Regions from separate parts of the Homo sapiens genome. Here region 2 is linked to region 1. The links are contacts of gene promoters, found by promoter capture Hi-C in blood cells and fetal thymus (Javierre and others, 2016). All regions are on one chromosome and are shown on one strand. The core of a region is centred on a gene start or on the middle of the fragment in contact, and the rest is flanking DNA. Distances in the headings are between cores, read along the strand shown.

Region 1 (3,346 bases), core at 351-2,850:
GGTATTCTGACTTCAGGTGCTTAGCTGTATAACCCTGGTCAAGTTACTTGACCTTTCTATGACCCTCCTGCCGAATGCACATGACGACAGCACGCTCACTGGGTTAGGGTTGATTAAATGAAATAAAACACATAAAAAGCTAGCCCAGAGCCTGGCCACAAGATGCCTTCAATAAATGTTCATTGTTATAATTTACAGAGAAAAAAAGGCCCCAAGTCTGAGAAGCGACATGCCTGGGGATTCTTGCTAAAGGTTATCATTAAATCTAAAAGTCAAACAAACACATTCCTGACTCTGGGATACTCTCCTGATTCGTGGATACCATCGCTAACAGTAGTGACACAAATCAAATAATAAGAACAGCCAGAATCATAACCCTAATGACAGCAGTGGCCACAGCACTTAATACTTATAGAGCTGCTAGGGGCCACTGTCCTAAAAGAGGAAGAAGGCCAGGCTGCTGAATCACACACACACAATTACAGAATCTTCTCCACCCTTTGTTTTAAAAAACAGTTCACTGGCGCCCAAGTTTTGCTAAAAACAGGTATCTAAACCGATGACGGACAACGTGTAATTTCTTCATACCAAAGAGGTGGGGCTGTGCAGGGAGGAGGGGGTGGCGCTCGGCTCCTGCCAGATGGAAAAGCCACATGAAGTGGAGAAACAGCCGGATTCAGGATTCACCCCCGAATCAAAACCCGATTTTTGAAAGGCAGGACCTTCCAATTCGGGCAATCGCTAGGTTCTGCTTGTAAAATAACCTCTGAACAAGTGTCATCTGCCTTCCGCGCCAATCCCCTGCCGCGGTAGAAGGTTCGGATTACCGGGCAGCGGTGTGATTTCGGAAACCCGAGAGCGATCTGGCCACCTCCAGCCTTCCCCGGTCTCCGAGAATCACAGCCCCACTTGAGAGGAAAACAAAAGCCGGGGCAGCGGGGGAGGCCGGGCCAGGGTGCCCTCCATGCCGGATCGCGGGCGCCGGGCACCCGGGGCCTGAGGAATGCTCAGGTGACAGGCGCGGCGCCCGGGGCAACAGGTCCCGCCCGGCTTCGGCCTCCCGGGGTCCGGCCGATCCCACATCCGCCCCGGGGCCCAGGAGAGGGAGCGGGGCGCCAGGGAGAGAGCGGCGCCTGGGGCGGCGCAGGGGCAAGGAGTCCAAGCTCCATCTTGAGGCGGGCGGAGGAAGCGAAGGCCCGGCTCGGCGCTGACAGGGCCGCCACTTTTCCAGCTCCGGAGGAGCCCCCCAGGGACCCCCGGCCTCCGGCGCCGGCCACCCGAGACTCCCGCGGTCCCCTCCCGGACGGCTCCGGCGCGCGAGGCTCGGCCCCGCTCCCGGACGCCGGGCTTCGACCCCCGACCCGACCCTGGGCGGGCCCCGCAGGCCGGGAAGCCGGCAGGGGAGCAGGGGGTGCCGGGAAAGGGAGAGGGCCCGCGCCGCCCCCTGCTCACCTCCTCGGACGCCGCCGGTCGCCGCCACCTGTCCCACTGCAGCAGCAGCAGCCGCCGCGGCCGCCGCCTCCCGCCTCCCGGCTCGTCGGCTCGGGGCGGGGGAGAGCGTGACGCGCCGCCGCCGCCGCGGGGCCGGGCGGGCGCGCGCTGCCAGGAGAAGACGCCGCGCGGCTCCTCCCAGCGCTCCGCCGCCGCGCCCGCCCGGCCGGCCCGGCCGGCCCGGCCCCTCGAGTCCGCACCGGCCCTGCGGCCCGCGCCCGGCCCCGCGCCGCCCCGCCGCCTCTTTGTCTGCGCCCACCGCGGCCCCGGGAGGACCCTGGCCCCGGCGCGCCCGCCGCTCCGCCCTCGAACCCTCCCGAGCCCCGGCTTGGGGAGCAAGGTGCGAGGGAAAACCCACAGGCCTGCTCCGAGGGGCTTCTCGTCATTTCTGCAAAGTGTTCCCAGAATTTGCAAGTCACACCCAAGAGCCCCATTCAGCCTCGACCTCAGCCCGCTCTTTGGGGCTGATTCATTTGTTTGCCCTCCCCTTCCCGCCAGACAAGGGTGAGAAATCCTTTGAAACAGGCTGCAAGGCGCTTCCGAAGCAGGTTAAGTTGGGGATTGGGAAGGATCATCTCTGCCCTCGCCTCCCTCCAGGGAAAGACCCTGGATGAGGCGTCCCTGGAGAAAATGCTGAAAGGAACTGTAGAGCAGGTTAAGCTTGGGAAGAACTGTATCTGCTCCCCACTTCCCTCCGGGAACGACCGCGGGTTAAAAATCCTTTGAAACGATCCCAGGGTTTGCTCCGTTCGTTTGAGAAAAGCCCCTTTTATTCGCCCTGGCTGCTTGGACGGAAGCCCTGGTTAGTGTCCCATCCTCCTTCCCCCCTGGGATTTCCTTTAAAAGCTTTTGAAAGGGACAGGAGGGAAGGCTGCAACAGCCTGCTCGGGGCTGGGGTAGCAGAGGGCGGCCAGCATTTCACTCCCATGGACCATGGCAACCCCAGAAGCCTTACATCTCCAGGGAGGAATTTGCAGCTGTCGGGGAAGCCCAGGATTTTGTGGTGGATAAGGGGGCAGGGGCTTCCTCCTCCTTGCCAGTAGAAGAGAATAATCGGCGGGTGACCCCTCTAGCTGACCTTTATTCAAAGCACCGTGCTGCCTGGACCAGCAGGAAGAGGGAACTGCTCTGGTAATGCACGAAGTTCTGAACTATGTAAATTTGTCTCCTGGCCCCTCCTCTCCATTCATGTCTGAAATCCCTCGAAATGCTGTTACCTAATTCAACATCGCCCTAATTTACAGGCTGCAAGGTCAGGTGGTGGTGGTACTCCTGAAATCCCATATCCATATTCCTAATCTGAAAGGCGCGCCTCACCCCCTAATCTAAACAGTCTTCAGCTGTAATCAGCAAGCTGTGGAATCATAGATGTCATAGGATGAGGCACAGACCACTTCTAATGGGGGAGTTCAGCTAGGAACACTTATGGGCTTGTCTTTTCTTCTCTACTCAGTAGGCTGAGCCTGTCTTTATTAAAAATATTGTTTTGGGGCTGGGTGTGGTGGCTCACGCCTGTAATTCTAGCACTTTGAGAGACCCAGGTGGGTGGATCACCTGCAGACAGGAGTTCAAGACCAGCTTGGCCAACATGGTGAAACCCCGTCTCTAACAAAAAATACAAAAATTAACTGGGCATGGTGGTGCATGCCTGTAGTCCCAGCTACTCGGGAGGCTGAGACACGAGAATTGTTTGAACCCGGGAGGCGGAGGTTGCTGTGACCAGAGTTCAAGCCACTACACTCCAGCCTGGGTGCCGGAGGGAGACTCTGTCTCAAAAAATATATATATATATACACATGTATATATATATGTATATATATGTGTGTGTGTGTGTGTGTGTATATTTGCTTGTTCT
Region 2 (3,492 bases), core at 438-2,937, 330 kb after region 1:
TTCCTTTAATTCAGTGCATGGTGTTAAAATGCGACCAAACGCTCTATCCGGCTGCAATCTCCCCGCACGGGAGTGATTTATGCAGTAGCTGGAGGTTAGTCAGGACTCCAGGATGCACCGCAGACACCGAGGCGATGATCCTCGGACTCATTAATAGGGAGTCATTTGTGACTCAGGTGCGCTCTCTGCGTCTGCAAGTCACGTTCCCTTCGGCACGCCCATCTCGAGGATTCATCCTCTCCAACGGGTGACGAGCACCGCCTGCCGGCGGCCCGCCTCTCGGCCTCTTGGCCACGCCCCCCACCGGAGGGCAAGGCGCACGCTCCGCAATTTTTCTCCGCCCCCGTCTTCCGGCTTCTCGCGACATCCGCCCAGCGGCGGCCGGAATCTCGCGATAAAGGCTCATTGTCTCGCGGGAGCGCTGCTGGCGGTCGGGCGCTCGGGCGGCCCTGGCCGGGGAGACGAGTTGCATGTGTTGGTTCAGCTGGCGATAGCGGCGGGAGCGGAGCCGGCGGGGCCTGTGCGACCGCCTGGGTAACGACCCCAAGTGCTTCTCCCGCTCCCGAGAAGCTCGTAGAGAGTGTGGGGGAAGCTGAGATGCTGCCTGGCGGAAGGGGGCCGGGCCGGGCCTCTCCACACCCCCGCCCACAAGGGCCCCTTCTGGCGTCCCCGGGGTTGCTCCTTCGCCTCAGACCTGGTCGCCCTTGTCCCCTCAGTGCTCTTACATTCTGCGCTCGTTTTCTCTCCTCATCCTTCTTACGCTCTGGTTACCCCGCCCCCTCCCATGCCCTTTTTAGACTCCCCAGGCCCCTCTCATGGCGTTTAGTTGCCCCCACACCCTGCACCCCGGGCTTCTCCGATGACCCACCCCTTGTTCCTAGGCACTTCCAGCCTCTCTCCATTCGGCGCCTTTGTAGCCCTTCTCTCACTGCAGTTTGCATCCCTCCCAGATCACCCTCAGACCTTTTTGCTCCGTGTCTGCCGTGGGTACTCACCCCATCTTTCCTTCCCCATTGCTTCCTGTTTTTCTCTAGTGAGTCCCTCTGCCCCATCCTTCATGGTCCATTTGCTGCTTGCTTCCCTGTAGACCTGTGGAGCAAGGAGATGTTGTGCCTGGGATTGCTCATATTTTATGAATCGAATGCAGCTTGTATCCCCCACTCAACAACAGACTTGAAACAGCTTTGGGGTGGGGAGGTTTCTGTTGAGAGGAACACTGCTCTTCTGGGGTCTTGATTCTAAAATAGTGAGGGTGTGTTATTTTCCTTGCTTACAGGTTTGTGAAATGGCTGCTGACATTTCTGAATCCAGCGGGGCTGACTGCAAAGGAGACCCAAGGAACAGTGCCAAGTTAGATGCCGATTACCCACTTCGAGTCCTTTATTGTGGAGGCAAGTGTTGGTAGCCACAGAATGACTTTTACTCACTATACTTTTATGCATTGTAATAACAGTTTGACATTTGGTAAGCTTTCTTCCCCATCCTTTTCATTTGGTGAGTTTGTACTGGGGGAGAGGAGTCCTGGGGAGGAGGAGGCATGAATTAACAGAGTTTCCCCACCTGGGTGATTTGTGTCTGGCTACTCTGCCTGAAGAAGCTTACAGTCCATTTGTAACAGGATGTGCAACTAGGTTATTTCAGCCTGAAGGTCCTCAAGGTGTATGCTAGTCTAGCTGTCAAAGGAGGGCTTCTTGGAAGATTATGAGTTAAGGATGGCAAGGACTGGATGAGAAGGTGGGGAACGGCGTCCCAGACAAAGCGCACGACTATGTAAGAAAAAGCTTGATGGCTGTCTGTGAAGAAGTGAGCAGCTTTGAGTTTGTCTGGTGTATCGTATAGGGAGGGTGGCCCGTTAAGGAGTGGGAGAAGGTGAGGTTGGAGTGTTGGGTGGTAGGACAGTGAGGAAAGTCTTCTTGGTTTGAATCATGATATATGTATTAGGTTTAATCAAGATCTTTTTCACTTTCGAGTGTTTTTCTTCATTTTCAATATAGAAATATTTGTGAATTGTAAATGCTGTATGTATTCGCATCTTGGAAACTTTCAGAAAAATCTGAAGATACAGGACAGTAAAAGGGCAAGTAAATATTTTTTCAGTAAATATTTCTCAGAACTTACTGTGTGCCTAGTGATGTTTTAGGTGCTGGGGCCTGAGTAGTGAATAAGTCAGAAGATCCTTGTTCACGTGGACCTTACATTCTGTGACTGCAGTAGAGACCACATCTGACATTTAAGTACCGTAGAAGGAGAAATGATATCTTTTTGCCATTAAAAGTAATGGCAAAAACTGCAGTTACTTTTGCACCAACCTAATCATTTTTTGAGCAGGAAAATAAAGTGACAAGAGATTAATATGCTGCATTATTTGGAGGAAATAGAACCCACAAATTTGAAGGCCACTTTCAGAAATCTAGGTTTGAGGTAAATAAGTGCCTTGCTGAGAGTGTAAGCAGTATAAAAGTGAATAAAGAGGGTTAATCAAAGAAAAGATACAATGTTTAATGGTGAAAAAGGAAAAAGATATTTCACAATTGAGAGAGTTGAAAAACCAGAACACCACTAAAAATGATGACTTTGAGAAAGATTAGATTTGGAGATAGATAATAGGCTGACTTGCAATACAGTGAATTTGAGTTTCTCCAAATGGAAGAATCCAAGTATGCTGCATTTGGCAGCAGAGAGAGACAGTATATGAGCTTTTCTAAGGGAGAAAGAGAGAAAAGCCAGAAAGATTCTTGGGGTGTACCTGGAACGAGGTGAACTGGGTAGATTTCACCACATAGAGAATTGCTTAGTTGGTGAGAAGTTTGGAAGCTTAGTGAAAATGTCAGTCTCTAGAAATCTTGTTTTATTTTTCTGTAATTATGAATTAAAACTAAGGGGCCGGGCGCAGTGGCTCACACTTGTAATCCCAGCACTTTGGGAGGCTGAGGCAGGCAGATCATGAGGTCAGGAGTTCAAGACCAGCCTGGCCAACATAGTGAAACCCCGTCTCTACTAAAAATACAAAAACTTAGCCAGGCCTGGTGGCAGGCACCTGTAATCCCAGCTACTTGGGAGGCTGAGGCAGGAGAATCACTTGAACCCGGGAGGCAGAGGTTGCAGTGAGCCGAGATCACGCCATTGCACTCCCACCCGGGCAACAGTGCGAGACCCCATCTCAAAAATAAAAAACAAAACTAAGGATGTGAGAAAAACTGATACATTTATTTTAACAAGATGCTCAGAATATAGATTCCTATTATATTTTTATATAATGATTACCTGTGAAACAACTCTTTAAATTTGGAAACCTATGTGAGTAAAGGATAAGATCTATTCCCTGTGACCTCAGAGGGTCAGTGAACTAGGACTAAAGTGGAAACTACTGAAAGGTGCCTTTCTACCTTGTCAACACTCTCCAGAACAGTACAGGCTTCCACTTAATGTAAAAACATTCTTATGCTTAATTGAAGAAACTAGTAGTGGAGATGGGATTAGACTGTACCTTTT

What was found. The method cuts DNA at HindIII sites, captures the fragments that hold promoters and counts their contacts. A CHiCAGO score of 5 or more calls a contact.
Region 2: a fragment that was not itself captured here is called in contact with the fragment with the promoter of CLIP1 in region 1 in 1 of 17 cell types (naive B cells); the score reaches 5.2 in naive B cells.

What each region holds. Positions count from the first base shown.
Region 1 is chr12:122,421,069-122,424,414 of GRCh38, forward strand. CLIP1 (CAP-Gly domain containing linker protein 1) reads right to left here and starts at 1,601. Exons shown (of 26, transcript NM_001247997.2): 1 at 1,453-1,601. RefSeq lists silencers at 898-1,297, 1,318-1,667 and an enhancer at 2,777-2,876. The HindIII fragment of the contact is 15,249 bases long and covers 1-2,149 here.
Region 2 is chr12:122,752,417-122,755,908 of GRCh38, forward strand. DENR (density regulated re-initiation and release factor) reads left to right here and starts at 408. Exons shown (of 8, transcript NM_003677.5): 1 at 408-534; 2 at 1,277-1,391. The coding sequence starts at 1,286. RefSeq lists a silencer at 667-716 and an enhancer at 857-916. The HindIII fragment of the contact is 184 bases long and covers 1,596-1,779 here.